Regions from separate parts of the Homo sapiens genome. Here regions 1, 2, 4, 5, 6 and 7 are each linked to region 3. The links are contacts of gene promoters, found by promoter capture Hi-C in blood cells and fetal thymus (Javierre and others, 2016). All regions are on one chromosome and are shown on one strand. The core of a region is centred on a gene start or on the middle of the fragment in contact, and the rest is flanking DNA. Distances in the headings are between cores, read along the strand shown.

Evidence for each region. Contacts are between HindIII fragments. The CHiCAGO score rates a contact against its expected background, and 5 or more counts as called.
Region 1: a fragment that was not itself captured here is called in contact with the fragment with the promoter of PPID in region 3 in 3 of 17 cell types (endothelial precursors, megakaryocytes and erythroblasts); the score reaches 12.6 in endothelial precursors.
Region 2: a contact is called between a fragment that was not itself captured here and the fragment with the promoter of PPID in region 3, in 3 of 17 cell types (endothelial precursors, megakaryocytes and M2 macrophages). The highest score is 8.7, in endothelial precursors.
Region 4: a contact is called between a fragment that was not itself captured here and the fragment with the promoter of PPID in region 3, in 3 of 17 cell types (megakaryocytes, erythroblasts and endothelial precursors). The highest score is 9.0, in megakaryocytes.
Region 5: a contact is called between a fragment that was not itself captured here and the fragment with the promoter of PPID in region 3, in 5 of 17 cell types (endothelial precursors, megakaryocytes, erythroblasts and 2 more). The highest score is 14.3, in endothelial precursors.
Region 6: a fragment that was not itself captured here is called in contact with the fragment with the promoter of PPID in region 3 in 5 of 17 cell types (endothelial precursors, M2 macrophages, megakaryocytes and 2 more); the score reaches 8.9 in endothelial precursors.
Region 7: a contact is called between a fragment that was not itself captured here and the fragment with the promoter of PPID in region 3, in 5 of 17 cell types (erythroblasts, endothelial precursors, megakaryocytes and 2 more). The highest score is 9.6, in erythroblasts.

The regions. Positions count from the first base shown.
Region 1 is chr4:159,463,008-159,465,942 of GRCh38, reverse strand. No RefSeq gene overlaps it. Among named protein-coding and RNA genes, the nearest start is that of LINC02233, 310 kb to the left of the region's middle. The HindIII fragment of the contact is 1,113 bases long and covers 873-1,985 here.
Region 2 is chr4:159,405,281-159,408,301 of GRCh38, reverse strand. No RefSeq gene overlaps it. Among named protein-coding and RNA genes, the nearest start is that of MIR3688-1, 280 kb to the right of the region's middle. The HindIII fragment of the contact is 6,655 bases long and covers 1-3,021 here.
Region 3 is chr4:158,721,894-158,725,145 of GRCh38, reverse strand. It overlaps PPID (peptidylprolyl isomerase D), which reads left to right and starts at 1,750. Exons shown (of 10, transcript NM_005038.3): 1 at 1,750-1,942. The coding sequence starts at 1,858. RefSeq lists enhancers at 1,172-1,756, 1,644-2,123, 1,757-2,340. The HindIII fragment of the contact is 3,604 bases long and covers 295-3,252 here.
Region 4 is chr4:159,441,951-159,445,171 of GRCh38, reverse strand. No RefSeq gene overlaps it. Among named protein-coding and RNA genes, the nearest start is that of MIR3688-1, 310 kb to the right of the region's middle. The HindIII fragment of the contact is 1,364 bases long and covers 859-2,222 here.
Region 5 is chr4:159,383,556-159,386,432 of GRCh38, reverse strand. No RefSeq gene overlaps it. Among named protein-coding and RNA genes, the nearest start is that of MIR3688-1, 260 kb to the right of the region's middle. RefSeq lists enhancers at 2,183-2,756, 2,757-2,877. The HindIII fragment of the contact is 1,455 bases long and covers 645-2,099 here.
Region 6 is chr4:159,424,764-159,427,746 of GRCh38, reverse strand. No RefSeq gene overlaps it. Among named protein-coding and RNA genes, the nearest start is that of MIR3688-1, 300 kb to the right of the region's middle. The HindIII fragment of the contact is 6,952 bases long and covers 1-2,983 here.
Region 7 is chr4:159,362,926-159,366,083 of GRCh38, reverse strand. No RefSeq gene overlaps it. Among named protein-coding and RNA genes, the nearest start is that of MIR3688-1, 240 kb to the right of the region's middle. The HindIII fragment of the contact is 1,078 bases long and covers 1,275-2,352 here.

The DNA.
Region 1 (2,935 bases), core at 180-2,679, 740 kb before region 3:
GGAAGGAAGGAAGGAAGGAAGGAAGGAAGGAAGGAAGGAAGGAAGGAAAGAAGGATTAGATAAATTAGAGAGTAAGGCCAGCAAGATGGCAGAATAGGAGGTCACCTGCTTGTATCCCTTCAGGACAAGAATTCTGCATCCATCCATAGACAAAAGTTTCTTTGTGGGAGCCTTGGGGTTCAGATAGGAGGCTGTGGAACCCCACTGAAGCCTAAGACCTGGGAGGGTGTTTTGAGAACGCAAACTCACACTCAGGTGGCAGACCTGCTGGTTATGCTCCCGGGTTCAAGCCCAGAAACCCCTGTTACCCAAAGTGTTTGGCTGTAGCCCCACCTGGCCTTCAGCTTTACCAAAACCATCTGCCAAGGAGTCTGTGAACAATCCCATGTTAGTATCTTGGCAGAGAGGCTCATCTGCTCACTGACATTGATCTTGGCAATGGACCTGAAAGTTGCCCTGTGGTTCAGCTTCTAGCCCTTCTCAGCTGTAGTCCCAGATTAGTACTGCTCACACAAGAACCTAGAGGAAGACTTGCCCATATGTCACAGCCTGGGAGTTACTCACCTGACTGAGACTCCCTGACAGGCTTGCCAGCCTCCATCCCACAGCAGATCCTGAAGGGGACCAGTCTCAGTTTTGCCCCCTCTTGCTGCAGTCAAGGGACTATCCCACCTAGGCAGGGAACTGCTGGTAGATGTGAGCCTGTCTGAGCCACTGAGGAAGGGTCACCATCTTCCATCCCACAGCAGATTCTGAAGGAGCCAAGTCTCAGCTTGAACCCCTCTTGCAGGCTGAAGATTGTCCTACCTGTTCAGGGAACTGCTGGCAGTGCACCTATCTGGGCCTTCGGGACAGTCGGGAGTTTCCAAGCTTGGCCAGCTTTCCCACACAGCCTAGGTACCCTACTTGGGTCTTCCACAAGTCTTCTGGACTGGGTCACCACTCCAACCTTGAAGCCCTTGTGAGACTCACAGCAAACCTGGTCTTCTGGTGCTCACTAAGGCTGAAATAGCTGTAGCAGTAATGAGCTTAGGGAACACAAATCAGCCTGCTTAGAACTTCTGGGCAGGCCTACTGAAGAAGGACAGGCACAAACAAAGCCAGACTGTGAAGACTGGAATAAATACTAATTATTCAATGCATAGACATCAGCACATGTCAACGAGAATCAAAAATAAGCAGGAAAATATGACCTTACCAAAGGGGAAAAATAAGGTAACAATGACTAACCCTAAAGGAATGGAGGTGTGTGATCTGTCAGACAAGAAAATTAAAATAGCTATATTTAAGGAAACTCAATGAACTATAAGGAAACACAGAGAAACAACTTAGAAATTTATCAGAGAAATTTAACAAAGATTGAAGTAATAAAAATCAAAATCAAACAGAAATCTCAGAGTTGAAAAATGCAACAAATGAAATGAAAAATGCAATAGAAAGCATCAGTAGAAGACTTGATCAAGCAGAAGAAAGACTCTATGAACTAGAAGTAAAACTTCTCAAGCTCCATCCAAAACCTACTGAGTCAAAAACTCTAGGGATACAGTCTAGCAACCTGTGTTTTAACAAGCCCTCCAAGTGATTCTGATACATGCTGAAATTTGAGAACCACTGAATGACATTATCTCTAACTCCCCTGACAGCTTTAAAATTCTACAGCATTATAATTATTATCATCATCATCAGTAATAGATATCAAGAGCTTTCTGTATCCCTCTCTGCTGTTCAAGGCACTTTCTATATAATAATCCATTTAGTTGTCACAATACCCTTAGATGTAAACTCTATTGTTATGACATCTTGGTTAACAAGGAAACTGAGACATGAAAGGGTCATGTAGCTGTAGTGGAAATGCACCACCAAATTCTCCTTCAAGAAATGACTTGTTCTTCCAGCTCTTTCCTTGGCTGCAGAGAACCACCTTGCTCAAGGGTATAGCCTTTCCAGGGAAGCCTTTATCAAGTAATAAGGCTTGATGTGAAGCTTTATTACTTGATAAAGTAATGAATCACAAAAGGGTTTAAAGGCCTAAACCATGGGACAGATCTGACAGGTGCATAAGCTCCAGAGTTCTCCATAGGATTGGCCAAGGCTTTGTCAGGCCTACATCACAGTTCAGTTTCACTCTCTTTACAATCTTGCTTCCTTCTCCTTCCTTTTATTTGTATTTATCCCTAACTATCCTGCACCAAACTACTCAGTGTCTGCTTCTGGAAAATCCATTTTACAACAGTAGCTGACTAAAAGTTAGAGGTCAGTAATTGGTAGAGCCAAGGTTCAAACCCTGGCAGATAGACTCTATACCTTAGGCTCTTAACTATTTATTACATTGTTCTAGATCCTATCATTTGTCCCCCACTTGGACTTGGAAATTAATGACACAAGCATTTGAACATGAGATCTTAGAAATAATTTAATTTTACAAATGAGAAAACTAAAGCTAGAAGAGATTTCCCCAGGTCGCCCCTGGTTTGTAAGCAAGCACTGACTTGGTCTGAGACGCTCTGACCCCTAGTGTTCTACTGTGTCAGTACTTCCCACCTTAAGGAAAACAGTCACATAGCAATGAGATAAGGTTTCTGAGGTAAATTATAATTTTACTGGGGAACACTTGACACAAAGCCCAGCTTCAAACAATCTATTTCTAAATCTAGAAAGAGCAATAATTGGTACTATGTTTAGCAGAGAGGCTATGGAGCAGATGAAAAAGGAAAGCAAAAATTTTCATCATAAAAATTAAACAAGCACTTCCCAAAGAACATAAGGGCCTTTCCAAATCCTTGCAACACTTTTATTATGAAAGGTCAGAAATAACAGCTTCACAAAGTTTCCTGAAAGGTGGTAAACCTAGACTCCACCTCCCTGACATGATTAGAAAGACTATGCCCCCACTCCTTCCAGCAAACCTTCAGATTGGCTAAGGACACAGGTTTCT
Region 2 (3,021 bases), core at 410-2,909, 680 kb before region 3:
GAGGGAAGAGCAGATGTCAAGGCCCCAAGATGGGAAAGTCAATGACCTGTTTAAGAAAGAAGAAGGCCTGTGTGGCAGGACAGAGTGAACAAGGAGAAGACGTTAGACATTGGAGAAGCATGCAGAAGCCTGGTCATGACAGCCTTTTAGTCCATGGGTGGAATATTTCATTGTAAGTGCATCAGGGTTCTGCAGAGACACAGAATCAACAGGATATGTACACACACACACACACACACACACACACACACATAGGAATTGGTTCATGTGATTAAGGGGCTGACAAGTTCCAAGACCTACACTCTGTAAGCTGCAGACGCAGAAGACCCATGGTGTGGTTCCAGTCTGATGGCCATAGCCTCAAGATCCAGGAAGAGCTGGTGTTTCAGTTCAAAGGAGAAAAAATATCAATGTCCTAGCTCAAAGGTAGTCAGGCAGGAGGAATCTCCTCCTACTCACAGGAGGGTCAGCCGTTTTGTTTTATTCAGGCCTTCAGCTGTTTGCAGGGACCCATATACATTATGGAGGACAATCTGCTTTACTCAGTCTATCAGTTTAAATGCTAACCTTGTCCAGAAATACCCTCACAGGCACAAACATTTGTCTGACCAAATGCTTACACACCCCATGGCCTAGTCAAGTTGACATTTAAAAATAATCATCACAAATCACCCTTTGTCAATTTGAACCCATAATCATCTCCTCAAACAATACTTAATCGTCAAGTAAGGGCAATAACAAGGCCATAATTTTTCCTAACATGGTATAACTATCCTACATCCAACCAAAACACACGAACCTCTTCTCCAGAACATGAGGTAAAGTCCTTGTGCGGTGTTTACTCTTTTCCTTGATATCCTGTAACTTAAATACTAGGATTTAGAATCAGCAATACTTAAATATTATGAGATAAAGTCAATACATCCTATGTTACATGGTAAGGGAATAAAACAAGTTATTTGCTTAATACACACACATACACACACACAAATATAAGGCAGAAATACTCATGACAATTACAGTCTCTATTTCTGTAACTGGTTATATGGTCATGGTTTTATAACTATCTTCTTCCACTAACCATTCTATATTCCCTTTACCTTCAGTAAGCACCTTAGCTAGTTGTAGTCCTTTACATGGTGGGGAGACCCAAACCTTCATTTCAGAAGGGTATAGTCTATGAGGCCTGCCTTGCAGGGGTTGTCATGGATTTCCATTGACCTTAATCATAGGATATGGTAATAGTAAGAGATGCCCTAAGGGACCACCTGTATTCCAGGCATATTCTTCCTTACCTCCACTGTGGAGTAGCAGTCAGATTTTCTCTTGGTAATCAGGAATCACCCTAGTCAATATCATAACTCCCTTCTTTGCCTGTCGACTCAGAGGCATGAGAAACCCAAAGTAGCCAGGCAGCTATCTTAACTCCCAGTTCAATGGAATCAATATATCTCCTGGTGGAAGCATTTCTCCCTTTGAAACTAAGACCTCTAGGCCAGTAGACCATAAGTTCTCAGGAATAGGAAGCAAAAATCTTGCTAGTCGGTTACTGAGAGTAATAGTGAATGGTACCACTCCCATTTCCACCCCTTGATTTCTGAACCCGTAAATTCTGCCCATGGGAGAAACAGCAACATATATTGGATGCTGATTCAGAGCACATACAGCCTTCTGGAGGGCACTTTGCCCAGCCCCGCAAGGTATTGTCACCTAGCGGGTCCTGAAACTGTGTCAGCTGAGTCTGCATAAGGCCATTTCACCGTTCTATCAAGCCAGCTGCCTCAGATGGTGGGAGATGTGGTAAAACCAGTGAATTCCATGAGCATGGGCCCATTGCCACACTTCATCTGCTGTGAAGTGAGTTCCTTGATTGGAAGCAATGCTATGTGCAATGCTGTTTTCCCAAATAGACATCGCCACCACAATAAACTAGAGATAAGTCACCATGGGATTCTGAGTAGGTCATGACATGATCTGATTACATGTCAGTAGATCAACCTGGCAGTTGTGTAGAGAATAGAATAGAGGGGAGTAAGAATAAAACTCAAGAGACTATTGCAGGAAACAGATGATGACTTGGGATAGGTTCTGGCGGGGGAGGTGAAAAGAAAGTTTTGTCTTTTTCTTTTATTTTAGAGATGGGGCCTTACTCTGTCACCTAGGTTGTAGTGCAGTGGTGCAATCCTAGTTCATTGTAGCCTTGAACTCCTGGGCTCAAGCAATTCTTCCACATCAGCCTCCCAAGTAGATAGGACTACAGGCATGTGTCACCATGCCTGGCTAATTTTTAAATATTTTGTAGAGATAGGGTCTTGCTACATGGCCCATGCTGTTTTCCAGCTTGTGCTGGGATTACAGGTGTGAGCCACTGTGCCCAGCAGAAAGGACATATTCTGAAGGTAGAGTCTATAAGAGGTGATGACGGGTTGCATGTGGATCATGAGAGAAAAGAAGATAGTTCATTCCAGGTTGTTGAAATTGTAGAACTAACATGGTGAATAGCGATGCCGTGTACTAATACATGAGCCACTGTAGGGGGAAGAGATTTGAGCAGTATAATGAAGAGTTTGGCGTTGGATATTTAATAATCAAGATCCCCATTTGAGTTAATTAGATTGATTTAATCATATCACAATGTACATATATATCAAAATATTATGTTGTACACTATATATATATATGTATATAGCTTTATTTGTCAATTATTTCTTAATAAAGCTGGGGGTTCCCATTAGAAATCAAGTCGATATGTAGAAAGAACAGTTGATTTATGCATTTAGAATTTCAGAGTGTCCTAGGTTGGGGAAGTAAATCTGAGAATTTTCAGCATATATATAGATCTTTTCAACCATAAAACTGTATGAGATCATCTAGGAGAAAATAAGTGTAGAAAAGAAAACAAGAGTCTAAAGACTGAGCCTGTGGGCATTCCAGCATTTGAAAGTGAGAAAGAGGAGGAGGAGTCAGCAAAAGAGGCTGAGAAGGAGCAACTAGGGAAGGAAAAAGAAAAGCGGGAAAATG
Region 3 (3,252 bases), core at 501-3,000:
GCACCAATCATCTGCCTGGCCCTTATGTTTCATCCACAACCCAACCCACTTACCTGACTCCAGGTTATTTTAAAACAACTTCAGGCACTATAGCATCTAATTTTCAGTAATTTAAAAAAGAGTGTATAAGAATGCTTTAGAGATTACAAGGCAAATGCTTACACATTATCTTTTTCCATTCTCATACCCTGTTCTTTGGCACTTTACCGAAAAGGAAATGAGAAGGGTTCAGAGAAATTAAATGACTTTTCTTTGGTAACATGCCTAGTATACATGTAGTCAGAACTTGAAGCTTTTGCTTTTTTTTTTTTCTTTTTTAACATCAACTTTCGTGCTTAGTCCAGTGTATAACATCACAGGCAAATTCAAATTGAGAATAGGAATCAGTTGTTCTTTAACCGTAACCCTTCTAACTTTTACTTATCCTAAGACCGGGTAGCAAGTAGGGCAGGAGCCTTCATCTAGAGGGATGGTGACAGCTCTGATAGGGGAAAATTAGCACTGGTCTTTCCTTCCAAAAAGCCACTCTGGCTGCTGCTGTTGACACAAGGCTCCTGGCTTTTGAGACATTATTTGAGTGCTGGATTCCAATACTTTTTACTTTCTCATAAGAAAAAAAAATGTGAAGCATCTAAGGATATCTCCTGCCTTATTGATAAAGTAAGCCTCAGGCTGAATCCAAATTGCTGAGCTCCAATAGAACTACAGGGCAAAGCATCTACACAGGGAATTGCCACTCTTCTCCAAAATTAGGCTTTATTAAGAGGCAAGGCTATGTTCTCCTCATATATATGTGTGTGTGTGTGTGTGTGTGTGTGTGTGTGTGTGTGTGTAAAAAGTAAATGTTTTACACAGATCCCCATAAGGGAAAAGTGGGCTATAGTAATACAGTATTTTTTTGTTTTTCTTTTTTTTGGGGGGGGGGGGGACAGTTTCGCTCTGTCACCCAGTCTGGAGTACAGTGGCGCGATCTCGGTTCACTGCAACCGCCGCCTCCCGGGTTCAAGCGATTCTCCTGCCTCAGCCTCCCGAGTAGCTGGGACTACAGGCAAGCACCACCACGCCCGGGTGATTTTTTTTTTTTTTATTTTTAGTAGAGACGGGTTTCATCATGTTGGTCAGGCTGGTCTCGAACTCCTGACCTCAAATGATCCGCCCGCCTCGGCCTCCCAATGTGCTGGGACTACAGGCGTGAGCCACCGCGCCCCGCCAAATACAGTTTTATCAGGAATCAAAACTGTGCTCTCTTCTGGACTCTCAGCTTTAGCTGTTTGGAGCGTTTAGTCTAAGCCTTACCACTTACATTGTAATGTGAAGATCAAATTGTAACGACATGGCAATAATAAGGCTCCTATTGGTTGGGTACCACCAGTTTATGCCAGGCATTGTACTGATTCATGTCTTTAATCCTCAAAACGACCTTCCGAGGTCAGCGTTTTTATTCTTTTTCCAGAGGAGCAAACTGAGTTTCTGAGAAGTCACACCCAACTTGGTGGCAGAGCTGACGCTGGCATGGGGTTGACTCCAAAGCTCTCTACGCCACGAGGGTGGGAAAGACAACGAAACACAAGCGAGAAGAATAATGAGAACTGGGATCGCAACTTCATTAAATGAGAAGCCAGGAACAGGTGGCGGAGGGCACGCGGTTCGCTGCACGGAGTCGCTCAGGCTCTTTGAAACACCGCGCGGGGGAGCGGGGCGGTGCCGGAAGTCAGGCCATGGCTTCCGGTTCTTGCGTCGGAAGTGGCCGGTCAGCGTCGCTGCCGGTCTCCGGCGGAGACGGACTCTGGAGTTTGGGCGGCCCGGGCGGCCACTAGGTACTCTGATATTCCGTACTAAACACGTCTGCAAGTCAAGATGTCGCACCCGTCCCCCCAAGCCAAGCCCTCCAACCCCAGTAACCCTCGAGTCTTCTTTGACGTGGACATCGGAGGGGAGCGAGGTGAGCGGAGTCTGACGCTCGCGGAAAAGCCCCGAGGAGGCGGGGGTTCCCGGGATTTGGGGGATTCCAAGGGCGGAATGCGGCTCCGGCCGGTGACTGCTCAGTTTCGCGGAGGGGATGGCTGCCTAGGCTGGTCCGCCGGAGCAGGCCCGGAGATCTAGGGCTAGATCGATCCAGCGCCCTTGTATCAATGCCATCGGTGGTGCGGAAGTTTCTGGAAATTTCTAGTTCGGGAATTGTGGCGTCCTTTAGGTTTGCCTCCTGATTTGGTGGCACTTCCACGCCACCTTTGCACTACCAAGTTAGCATGAAATATTTTATGTTTGCAATGGGACAGTTCGGAAAGCATATCCTGGGATATGCGTCTGCTGGGCCCCAGGAAACTATATTTGCCACATGAGATAATATATCAGCACGTGCTGTGTTATTTATACGTTAAAGGGACTTGTTTGCTCATTGCTTTTGCCTTATTACTGATTCTTAATTTAGAGGTCCGTTCAGATGAGCAAACATTTTCTCTTAATTTGCCATTGGGAAAATGCGCTCAACGTAGTGATGGTGTTGCCTAGGTTACATAGCCGCTCAGAAGTTCCTAAGGCCTGGTGAATTAGGGAGCGTGTTGCTTTGTAACTGGATTGGCCTTGTTCTGGAACACGTTGGAATTGCTGGCCAGGCAATGTGTTTGAATGCATGTACAGGACACACACACGTTTACACGTACATTCAGTTTGTTGCAACTAGCTAGGGCTAGGTTTAATCTCACCTGTCTTAGCTGCTATCTAGAGGAGGAATTTTTACAGCTTTTGCTTCAGAGGTTGCATGAGGCAGTTTGCTCAGAGCACAAAGGCTGCAGGTATACGTAACACGTGGCAAGTCCGCCCACCCAAAGACTGTTTAATTTTCTCCCGTTGGTTGCTTGGTGATTGGAAATTCTCAGTACCTCTTGAAGAAATTACTCAGGATTTAAAACTATTTGTATTTAATGATATCTCTTACATGGTGCTAATCTTTTGGCTACTATAATTGGTTATGATCCTTAGTGTAATGTTTCAAATCTGTTTATATACATACATGACAGTAGGTAGACTAAATTTGAATATTAGAATAAAATAAGATTCACTAATTCTAGTGAGTATATTCAAAGGAAATGAAGTTTGTATGTCAAAGAGGTATCTGCACTCCCATGTTCATTGCAGCATTATTCATGATAGCCAAGATAATGGAATCAAACTAGGTTTCCATCTACAGATGGATTTTTTTTAAAATTTGATATATGTGCACAGTGGAGTACTATTCACCCATAAAAAATA
Region 4 (3,221 bases), core at 291-2,790, 720 kb before region 3:
AACTGTTTTTACTGGCTTCTCCAAAATGCAAAACCTGAGGCAGAAGAGACCTTGCACATAATTTATTACTTTATTAGGGAGCAGAAGTGAGTGACAAGAGAAGGGAAGCAAGGAGGGAGGGAGAACCAGTACAAGAATGCATTTTTGATCTGGCCACAGCTAAATGCAACTCATTGCTGGATCTGTAGAACTGCACCCCTGAGACGTTACATAAAATGCATCTTGGTAGGATTGGAAAGGGTGTCTGGTTTCCCATTAGTCAGAGGTTCACCACCAGGATGTTAATTTCACCATCACTTCCCACTTGCACATGCACCTCTAGGAGGCAGAAGTGACTGGACAAGGATGGTTAGTTAGTGTGGTTTTAATGGGCCTTGAATGATGGCTGGTGGATTTGGGGATTGATTCTGCAAGCACTGAAGAATTACAGAGATTTTTGAAAAGGAAAGTGACATGATCAAAAGGGAAGATTTCCCTAGTTGTATGATCTCTTTATAGAATCTTCATCATCTACTGAAGTGAAATATTTGTGGAAGTTTCCTTTTTATCCCTTGAGAAATTGGCATGGTAGGGATGAATGCCCATTCTCACTTCCAGAAGAGGCAGCATCAAGCAGGACCCATGGAAGATAGTAAGATTGGGTTGGCCAAAAACTAACTTGGCCAATGGATGGGACTTAACTGGAAAGTTTAATTCAAATTGAGAGAACTCCAGAAAGCAACAGAATAATATTTTGGTCTCCCTTGAGGATTTGGGAGTTATGGATTCGGAGGTTCTGCCTTCCCTCCCACCATCTTATCCACACAGGCACCTGGGCAAGGTAAGAGCCTGGCACTGCCAAGCCAGATGGTGGAAGCTTTTGCTGCCAGCATCCTCCAGTGGGATGGGGCAGACTGTGTTCCCTGCCGGCTGGTTTCTGAGTGCTTTCAGTATACAGCAAAATCAGGGTGGATAGTATAAGCAATCTTTCATTCGTATAGCTGTTTATAATATAAACCACTTGTCTAAATATTTACACATTTAATCTCCACAACTTTCAAAACCATTCTGATTCTCCCTCCTTACAGTTCTCTTCTACCCTCAACCAGAGCCATTCGTGAACTATTTATCCTCTCTGTGGCTTAAATGAAAAAAAAACTGGAAAATGCAACAATTCTACCAAATGATAGTCCTCACCTCAGGCTTTGGGGAAGTTATAAATGAGATAGTGTATAAAAGGTGCTTAGCACAATGCCTGGCACAATGAAGGCCCTTAACAAATATTAGCTGCTATTTTCATTATCATTGTTTTTGCTATAGAGTATCACAATATTTTTATTAGTACTATTATCATCATCATCTGGCATTTGGTTCCATTATGAACCTTCTAGAACTAACCCTAAATTATTAGGAGATAGTATAAAATGCCTAGCTTAACACCGAGCATAGAGTGTCACTCAATAAACACTAAAGATGTTACCTGCAGTTTCCCAAGGGAGGAGGGGTACAAAGTCACCGCCTCTAGCACTCAGGGATAAGTAATTCCAGATGCCAGCTCTGAGATCTTTTCCTAGTCACTGGAATTCTTACATGATCCTATGATGATGGTTGTTTAATGGTCAAAAGCACAGACTGTAGAACCAGACATCCTGAGTTCAAATCCTACTCTACCTTGGGTAGTTTACTTAACCTCTAAGTGTCTCAATTTTATATTTAAAATAAAGAAGTCAATTGTACTTACCCCATGGAGTTTTATAAAAATTAAGTGAGTTAATAAACATAAAAGAGCTTGGGAAAATACCTGGCACATAGTAAATAGCATATAAAAATTAGCTAGTAGTGCCTTTCTTTATTCCCTTCTGCCTGTGGGCTCACCTCATATTCTCATCCAAATTCTCCTCTCCTGCATCCTAAACACACACACACACACACACACACACACACACACACACACGGTCCCAGTGTCTGAGCCCCTGATCTGCTGATGGTTCCCAGTTGTAATAGTCTATACTAACACTAAGATACCCCATTATTATTGCAGAAATTCAACCACAAATGGTATGATGAGGTTGGAGTAATGCCAAAACTATCCTCAGGCTTCTGACACAAAGCCACAAAGAGCGACAGTACCTTAGTACATTAACAAAAATACAGAGTTCACTCTTACAAAGACCTACAAGTTTGACTTTCCCAAGTCTCATGATTGGCCAAGTTCAAAGATACCAACTGATAGTAACAAAGCTTTCAAAATCCTCATGTGTAAGCCAGCGTGTCAATTTATAAACTTTCAGCAAGAAATATATTTAGTTAGGGGTTTAGCACTTCATATTATCTAGCCAGCATATTTTGTTCCTATAGCCAAACTTCTCAGGTTACCAGGTCTCACTGGTTTACATGTGAGTTAGTTAACAGATCTAAATGTTAAACTATCAGGCTCTCAAAACATGATGCAATCCTCTCAAGAAAAGGTATATTATCTGCTCAAAGAACTGACAAGTCATTGGGTCAAGATGTTCTCTACCCAGAGTGCACCTATGTGGTCGTTGCCAACATTTGCCCCTAAAACAGGCTGATCTGTTTTTGTTTTTGATGTTTCTATGGATGACCAATTTCTCCCACTTCATTAATTAACATAGTATTTTGTAGGGGAAAGAAAAGAAATATGCCAATAATTTTAGTCAAGACTTGATCTGGACTATAAGATTATATTATGTATATTTATGCTGATGATTCTTGAATAGTTATGTATTTAATTCTTTCAGAGTAGTCTTATTGTCCTTAGTTCTATATTCTTGAAGGACATTATGTTATACCCCTAGGAAGTACCTACATTCTCTTTTGGACTTAATGATGATAGCTGGGCCCCTGGACTAAATATTTATTATAGATTCTATATGATACCGTGCTTGACCAATCAAGCTGTACATGTGCCTATCTGTCTAGTTCCATTCCTGTGCCTTCCCAGTACAATCTACATCCTAAACTCTGTTTCTACTTTCAGATCTTACACACCTTTATTAACGAATATGGCACTTCTGGCCAGGCGTGGTGGCTCATGCCTGTAATCCCAGCACTTTGGGAGGCTGAGGCGGGCAGATCACTTGAGGTCAGGAGTTTGAGACCAGTCTGGCCAACATGGTGAAACCCAGTCTCCACTAAAAGTACAAAAATTGGCAGAGCATGGTGGCAAGTGCCTGTAATCCCAGCTACTCGTGAGGCTGAGGCAGGAGAATTGCTTGAAC
Region 5 (2,877 bases), core at 123-2,622, 660 kb before region 3:
CAGATTGGGTAATTTCTATTGTCCTATCTTCAAGTTCATTATTTCTTTCCTCTGTCCCCTCTATACTGTTTTGAGTCCATTCACTGAATTTTAGCTATTATATTTTTCAGTTCTAAACTTTTCATTTATCTTTTTGTATATCTTTTATTTCTTTGCTGATATAATACTGTCTATTTTTTATTTGTTTCAAGCATGTTTATAATGCTTACTGAAACATATGATGATTTCCTTGAGACCTTTATCAGATAATTCTAACATTGCTGTCGTTTCAGTGTTAGGATCTATTTATTATCTTTTTTTCATTCAGTTTGAGGTCTTCTTTATTCTTGGTATGAGTGATTTTTCTATTAAAACCTAGATATTTGTGTATTATATTGAGGTTTGGGATCTTATTTAAATTTCTTGCAAAGGAAAATGGGAGTGGGGAGTGAGCTGCCTGATTACTGCCAGATGAGGTCAAGTTTCAGGTTCCCACCTGGCTCCCACTGAGACCTGAGGGGAGGGGCTACTCATGACTGTTAGGTGAGAGTGGAAGTCCTGCTTCGCATTCAGCCTCTACTCCTGGCTGGGAGGGGTAGAAGAACCTTATTACTGCTCCCCTCTTGGCCTGACATTATGTTGGAGAAGTGGCTTAGGTGAAAGCTTTGTCTCCAGTAGGTCTCCTTTGAGGCCACCCTAGAAGGAAGGGGCAAAGGCATCTCATTACCACTGGATAGGTGTGGAAATCCATGTGGTATCCACTGACACTGCATGAGAGGGATGAAAGTTCCATCTCCCTACTCAGTTTTCTCTGACACTTGTCCAGTGAGAGAGTGGGAGGTGGAGGCTGGTGCTACTGCCATTACATCCTGGGGACAGTGCAAGTCTGCTTCCTCTTGAGCTTTCACTGGGAGTGGGGCTAACATTTTTTCTGTGGTGTTTGGCTGGAGTGGAGCAGTTATTGTCCAATCTTTGTCTCATATATGTATTTTTATGTGTGTGTGTGTGTGTGTGTGTGTGTGTGTGTGTGTGTACATATATTTTTTTTAAATAGAGATGGTGTCTTGCTATGTTGCCCAGCAGGCTGGTCTTGAACTCCTGAGCTCGAGCTATCCACCCACCTTGGCCTCCCAAAGTTCTGGGATTACAAGCGTGAGCCACTGCGCCCAGCCTGTCTAATCATTATCTGTCTCATTAGCTACCCATCTCTTGTTCTTTCAGCTGGAGAGGGCAGGCTTTTGGTAATTTTTGTTTTGTTTTGTTTTGTTTGGCGTGCATTCATTGGTATTTCGGGGTTACGAGTTTCTTTATCTATGAGTCTGGGATATGTGAGTTAAAAAGAAAACCCAGGGAACACACTGCCTCTGGTCCTGTGGTCTCCAGCCAGTCAGCCTTCTCCACCTTTCAGAGTCATCATATGCTTGTTTAATATGTAAAGTCTAGGGTTTGTAGTTGTACTTTGTGAAAGCAATAGGGAATAGTACATTCATTCAATGGATAAGGCATTGGCCTCCTTAAGGGTTGGGCTTTGGGAATAGTATATTCATTCTATCTTCCAGAAGTGGATTTTTTTTTTTTAAAGAAACTGCAGTAAGCTATTATACACACAAGAGGTCTCTTCTGACATACACTTTTGTTTTTTACTCAAGAAAGGCTAATTTTTAGCATTCTCAAACATAATTCTGAAGGATTAATTTGTCATTTTATTTTAAATTCTTAAATATCCAAATTTTCTTCCTTCTCATCTTGAAAAAAATCAGCTTTATCTCATCATTTTCTCAGGTTTATGTTATTCAATAGGGGAGACTATGAGCCTGACAAAACTGTGACATCATTATTATGTATCCACATTAATCAGTGTATTTTTGACACACTGCATTCATTAAAGTCTTTGAAGGAAACATATCACTGCCTTCAAAGATATTACATTCTAAAAATACAAAGTAAAATGTAAAGTAAGATTTCAGAATTTCGAAATTAGGCCGTTTTAGTTAGGAAGAATAAGTTCTAGTGATCTATTGCATATCAAAGTGGCTACAGTTAACAATAATGTATTGTATATTTTAAAATTGCCAAAAGAGTAGTTTATAAATGTTTGCCCTGCAGAGAAATGATAAGCTTGTGAGGTGATGAATATGTTAATTAGCCTGGTCTGCTCATTCCACAATGCACACATACATTAAGACATCATTGTACCACATAAATATTATGCAATTATTATTGTCAATTTAAAATTAATAATTAAAAATTAAAAAAAAATTGAAATTGGTTTATTCACATATCTTTCACACACAAAGAAGCATTCATTGAAAACCTACATTGTTCCCACATCATGAAGATAAATGCAATTTACAATAAACAATCTTTCCCATTTTAATCAATATTTGTAGCTGGAGTGAGACAAGAGATGTTCTAATTCTTGAATCTCTAAACTTGTGTTTATCAAATGTAAACACAAAAGTGAGTTAAATATTGCAACAGGAAATTGGGGCTATCCTAGTTGATTGTCAGCTCCTACTGAGCAGGCAGTGTTGCCTGCTCATAACCCCTCACCCTCATTCCTTCATCTCCTCTCAGGATAGAATGATCAATCTTTTCAAGTGTCACCACAGAAATTTAAATTGGAACGCTTAGTGCCTTTGGAAATGTAGATTACCATTCCAGTTCAAGTGTAGGTGAAGGTCATAAGCTGCTTCTCTAACTCCACTCTCTATAAGCCTTTGGCCATCTAATAATTTAAAACCAATTTCTTTCCATTCAGATGGAGAGGCATTCCCACGACCTCTAACCAGCAAGCAGGATTTTACTACTAAATCACTTCTGCATTTAAAAATAAAAAATTACCATAACAAAACATGGATGCCATTTCAAGCCAAGCGTTGCTAAATTTTGACCTGG
Region 6 (2,983 bases), core at 358-2,857, 700 kb before region 3:
AGTGTTAATCAGCTCAATGCACCCTCTGCCTTTTCACAAGGGTAGAAGTCCAGTGTGACAGCTTTCTGTATCCCAAGTTCTTGCCCAGCATTCCCAAAAAATCAGGTCACACAAGGGCTTGAAGGATGAATGTGAGGTGAAGGTCACTTTCAGCAGGGTGCATGGGGACCCCGAAGGTGGGGGTGGAGTAGGAAGGTGATCTTCCCCTGGAGTCAGGCTGCCCAGCAGCCGGACTCCTCTCCAACCACCTCTATCTGAACTCCTCTAGGTGTTCAGCTGTTTCTCCTCTTCTCTCTTTCTCTGCCATGCTGTTCTACCATTCGTCTGCTGGTCTGCTGGCTTGCTTGTCTGCTTCTGGAACCTGGGGTTCAGGATTTATATGGGTGGAGGATAGAGGATGTGGTGAGCCACAGGGCAACTTTTTGGGTGTGAAAAACAGGAATGCCTGTCCTCATTTAGAGCTGGGGGTCTTCAGGTGTGATGGTGGGGCCTTTGCCACAGAACCACCCTCTTCCACCCAGTATTTCCCTGTCGCCTATCTGCATCATCTCTACTAAAAAAATAAAAATTAAAAAAAATAAAAAATTAGCCAAGTGTGGTAGTGCATGCCTATAGTCCCAGCTATTCAGGAGGCTGAGCCAGGAGAATTGTTTGAACCTGAGAGTTAGAGGATGCAGTGAGTTGAGATCATGCCACTGCACTCCAGCCTGGGAGACAGAGCAAGTTTCCACCTCAAAAAAAAAAAAAAAGAGTCTAATGGGCCTACAGGTGTCTTATGCAAATGTCTATCAATCAACTAACAATTACATAATTGTTGATCACTGTGTGCCCAAAAGGAATGACTCAGTAGGTTTGGGGTGTGACCCTGAAATCTGCCTTTCTTAAATGATTTGCAGGTGATGATACTGCACTGACAAATTTGGGAACAACTGTTCTAGGTATGGTACTTAAGAACTCAAACCAAATGCTTTGGGACCACCAACAAAATAAGGAAATCAGTTAAGGCTTCAAAGAAGTGATGGTGTTTAAGCTGGTGATTTGAAAGCCTTCTAACCAGGTTGGAGAGAGAAAAGGCAATTCTAGAATGAATGGAAAATGTATGTTTATAGCTCTGTCCCTATAACAAAAAATAAATAAAACATTAATAAAATAAAAATCTTTAGAAAAAAAAGAATGAGGTTAAAAGAAGAAAAGCAAATACGTCAGTCTTAAGTGCTCGATATGATTTCTGTGAATGAGCATGTCAGTGTGACTTTATGATACCTGCCGCCATAGAGACAGTATCATCAAAGACAGCCACCCCAGAAGGTGAACCGAGTAGTTCAATATAAGTTTGAAAAACAGTTAGGAGCCCGGGTGCAGTGGCAATAGAGCCTCTACCATGCAATACAGAAGCTGTCCTCACTGTGCTTTGTCCAAATTCCTGGTTCACAAAGTCTATGAGCACAATGAAATAATCATGCCGCTAAACTTTGAGATGGTTGGTTAGGCAGCCATAGATAACTGGAATACTTCTCTATGTTTCCCTAGTCTCTTGAATCCTCCTACTAACACTCCTACACCTCCCCCCCAACCCCTCACAGAACTTTTCTCATTCTCAGGAAATAGCTTTATTTTCTACTTTAGGTAAATATAAAAGAAGCAAATTAGAAGCCTCCCATCTACTTCTACCAAACATATAACATTACCTGCAGCTGTAGCCGTACTTTTCCTATTATAACAGAAATCTCCTTCCTAAAGTAATCTGAGAGGCCTGTGGGAGGGTAGAGCGATAGGGATTCAAAGCACTCCCCTCTCAGAAAACTTGCTGTATCATGAAGTCAACATTTCCCTCCTGACTGGTTCCTTCCCATTCACATTTAAACATATGCAAAGAAAAAAATGAATAAACAAACCACTATGGACCTTGTCAGGCCTCTGAGCCCAAGCCAAGCCATCGCATCCCCTGTGACTTTCATGTATATGTCCAGATGGCCTGAAGTAACTGAAGAATCACAAAAGAAGTGAAAATGACCTGCCCCGCCTTAACTGATAACATTCCACCGCAAAAGAAGTGAAAATGGCCATTCCTTGCTTTAAGTGATGACATTACCTTGTGAAAGTCCTTTTCCTGGCTCATCCTGGCTCAAAAAGCTCCCCCACTGAGCACCTTGCAACCCCCACTCCTGCCCGCCAGAGAACAAACCCCCTTTGACTGTAATTTTCCTTTACCTACCTAAATCTTATAAAACGGCCCCACCCCTATCTCCCTTTGCTGACTCTCTTTTCAGACTCAGCCTGCCTGCACCCAGGTGAAATAAACAGCCATGTTGCTCACACAAAGCCTGTTTGGTAGTCTCTTCACACGGACGTACATGAAAGACCTCACATCTCCCTTCTAGCTTCTGGCCTACCTCTTCTTCCTTCACAGAGCTATATATTCCAACCATTCCCCTTTCATCCTCTCTCACTCACTTTTCAGGTATCTCTTATCTGGTTTCCACCCATCATTTCATATAAATAACTCTCACTAATGTCACACAAGACCTCCACTTCACCAAATGCTTTCAGTATTTTAAACCCCTTGCTTGATATCTTCAGTGCATCCAACACTGTCGGGCATTCCCACTGTCTCCTGCTCTGGGTTTTCCTCCTACTCCTCCGGCTGCTCCTTCTCAGTCATACTTTCTACTAAACAATTAAATTCCAGAGTTCCTCTCTTGGCCTCTCTCCTTCTCACTATATACTTTTTTTCCTAGGAAATCTCATTCATATCCTTGGTTTAATTACCATATAAAATCATAAATTTACATCTCTGGCCCAGATCTCTACTGTAAGGTATAAGTCAATATGTCCAACTGGCCAGGTGCAGTGGCTCACGCCTGTAATCCCACCACTTTCAGAGGCCGAGGCGGGTGGATCACCTGAGGTCGGGAGTTCAAGACCAGCCTGACCAACATGGTGAAACCCCGTCTCTACCAAAAATACAAAGTTAGCCGAGCGT
Region 7 (3,158 bases), core at 564-3,063, 640 kb before region 3:
TGCCTCAGCCTCCCAAGTAGCTGGGATTACAGGTGCACGCCACCACGCATGGCTAATTTTTGTTATTTTTAGTAGAGATGGGGTTTCACTAGGTTGGCCAGGCTGGTCTGGAATTCCTGACCTCAAGTGATCCTCCTGCCTCAGCCTCCCAAAGTGCTGGGATTAGAGGCATGAACCACTGTGCCCAGCCTCCTTGGTTATATTATGATGGAGCAATAATCTATAGTGAACAACTTCTGCTCCTGCCTCACGGGTCAGTGAGGGGTCTGCCGGGGAGGGGCACAGTGGAATACCAGGTGAGCAGTCTCTCCTCTCCTCAGGAAAGTAAATGGAAGAAAGGACACAAGTACCACAGTTCGCCCATGAGTAGGCTGGTGGTTTTCATTCTACTGGTCCTCCAGCTTTTTGAGGTGAATTTTTGAAATTATGTATTCCACATTGTCAGTGTCCTTCTCTGGGCCTAGTTTTGCATGTGAGCAAATAATTTTAATTTTGCAGGGGTGCTAGAAATAGCTTGGTTAGACGTAGTGCCTGCGCTCAATGATTCACAACCTTTACAATGACACAAAAGAATGAATCAGATGGCCGGGCGCGGCGGCTCACGCCTGTAATCCCAGCACTTTGGAAGGCTGAGGCGGGCGGATCACGAAGTCAAGAGATCGAGACCATCTTGGTCAGCCTGGGGAAACCGCGTCTCTACTAAAAATACAAAAATTAGCTGGGCGTGGTGGCACGTGCCTGTAGTCCCAGCTGCTCAGGAGGCTGAGGCAGGAGAATCACTTGAACCCGGGAGGCAGAGGTTGCAGTGAGCCAAGATCACACTCCAGCCTGGGCGACAGAGCAATACTCGGTCTCAAAAAAAAAAAAAAAAAATCAGATGTTTTGGAAAATGCAGTGAATAAACTGTGTGGACTCACCAGTACTGTAATTGTACCTGAAGAGGGTAGAATGCCCCCTTCCTCAACCACATCCAGAGCCTTACCTTATGGATGTATTAACAGAAGGTACAACGGAAACAGTGTGGAACTTTGAATCCCGTGGACAAGAATTTTTTTGACTCAGTTTTAAAAATTAACATTTTCTGCAACTTCCTTATCTTTGTCAATGTTAATTTTTTTTTTTTTTCCCCTGAGATGAGTTCTTACTCTCTTACCCAGGCTAAAGTGCAGTGGTACGATCATAGCTCACTTGCAGCCTGGAACTGCTGGGCTCAGGTGATCCTACTACCTCAGCCTCCCAAGTTGCTGGGACATATTGGCACATGCTACCAAGCTTGAATAATTTTTTTTTTTTTAAGACAGGGTCTCCCTGTGTTGCCCAGGCTGGTCTTGAATTCCTGGGCTCAAGCGATCCTCCCACCTTGGCTTCCCAGTGTTGGGATTACAGGTATGAGCCACTGTACCCAGCCTATTCTCTTTATCTTAAGCATTCAGAATAAGAATCTTGAACATTTTACAAATTTTGGCTTAACTTTTAAGTAAGTCTCTTATATGCTATTAGACACCAAATTCTATTGATTTTTTTCCTTTGAATTGCCTTTGAAACCATACTTTCCAGGGCTTTGCTGGCTCAGGCCTGGATGATAGCAGGTTTCCCAGCTAGCTACCTTCCCTGCCTCACCCTCCATCCTGCCTGGTCCTGACTAATCAAGTCATCCTTTCCTACCATTGTCTCATCAAAAGATTCTGTCAGTTCTTTCTCCTTTCCTTCCTTGTTTCTTTTTATAAGCATTTACTGATCCCCTAAAATGAACAATCTCTAAACATTTTTTGTCCTGATCTCACTCCCTACTTATCCCAACCAATTTCTCTGCATCTTCTATTCATAATGTCCCATCTAATGAGGCATGACTCCTGTGTCCCACAGCCATGCCAATAGCCCTGCCTCTTGCCTTCATTCTTGTCTTCAGATGATACTTGAAGCTATAGCTGAAGTCTCGTCTCTTCTTATGGACACTTCAGTCTTCATTGACCTTTCACTCCACTGAACTTCTGTAGTCACACAAAACTGAACTCTTTAAACAGTCTTTTATCCTTTGCTCCTTTTGATTAATCTGAAACCCTTGCTAGCCTTGTTACGAGTCATTTATTTCACTTCTGAATATTCACCAGTCTGAGCAGTTATAGATGCCCCTTCACACATGCATTTTGTCTGATTTTTGAGTCTCCAATTTACCTGTGTAATTGAGGTCCTTTAGGTTGCTTGATATGATATTCATTTATTAAACACTTTGGCATTATCCCAGGCACTGTTTCTAGATGCTGAGAACAGAATGGTTATTCAGAGAGGATACACAAAAAACAGCTCTCCATGCTGGTCTCATGAAGAACAAGAACATTTCAGAGCCAAGCTTCAGGGAGTTGTTCTAAGACTGGACATTGTATTCAGGTGTGATGATGACAGATCATTTTATTGTTCCCTAAGAAGTGTCTTAAGTTTTTAACAGGATTCCTGCCTTTGATGAATTGCTTTCTTGACCTCATGGGCCCCTTCTTGCTCATGATTTCTGCATCCTCATTGCTTCTGTTAGTCACGGCTTCTGAATACTCACTTCTTTGGTGCGTCCTTTTTTTTTGCCTTTTCATAGAAATTCCCCAAAGAGAATGTGCTAAGGTTGTTAGTTGTTGCTTTCCTTCTTACTGGCTGGTCACGGCACTCATTCCAGGGCCCTCTTACAGACTGCTGGTGAGCCCACATTGGCAACTCTTGGATCAGACACCTCCTTCAATCCAGCTGTGATCAAGATGGTGGGATCACTCCGTAGGTTTTTCCATGTAGGGCCTGAGACACTTCTCTAAAGTAAGAAAGTATAACTCGAAGGTGCCTCGGTTCACTTTAGTAAAATCTGTAAATATCTAGCATCTAGAAAAGTGCTTGGACCACAGTAAATTAGCTCACTAAACTGTATCTAGAAGCATTGTACATATACATATTTTCATCTTAATACCAAATGTGACACTCACCTGATCCTAAAACCAATTTTGTAGTCCTATTTGGGGAAAAAGGTTTCAATCTATATAAATTAAAGAAAACCTCACGTATGTTGAGATACTATTACTTCATTGGTCCCCATTTGACCACAGTGCATTTGGCAAGGTCATACAATATTATTAAAATGTTTCTTTTCTGAGACAGAGTCTTGTCCTGTTGCCCAGGCT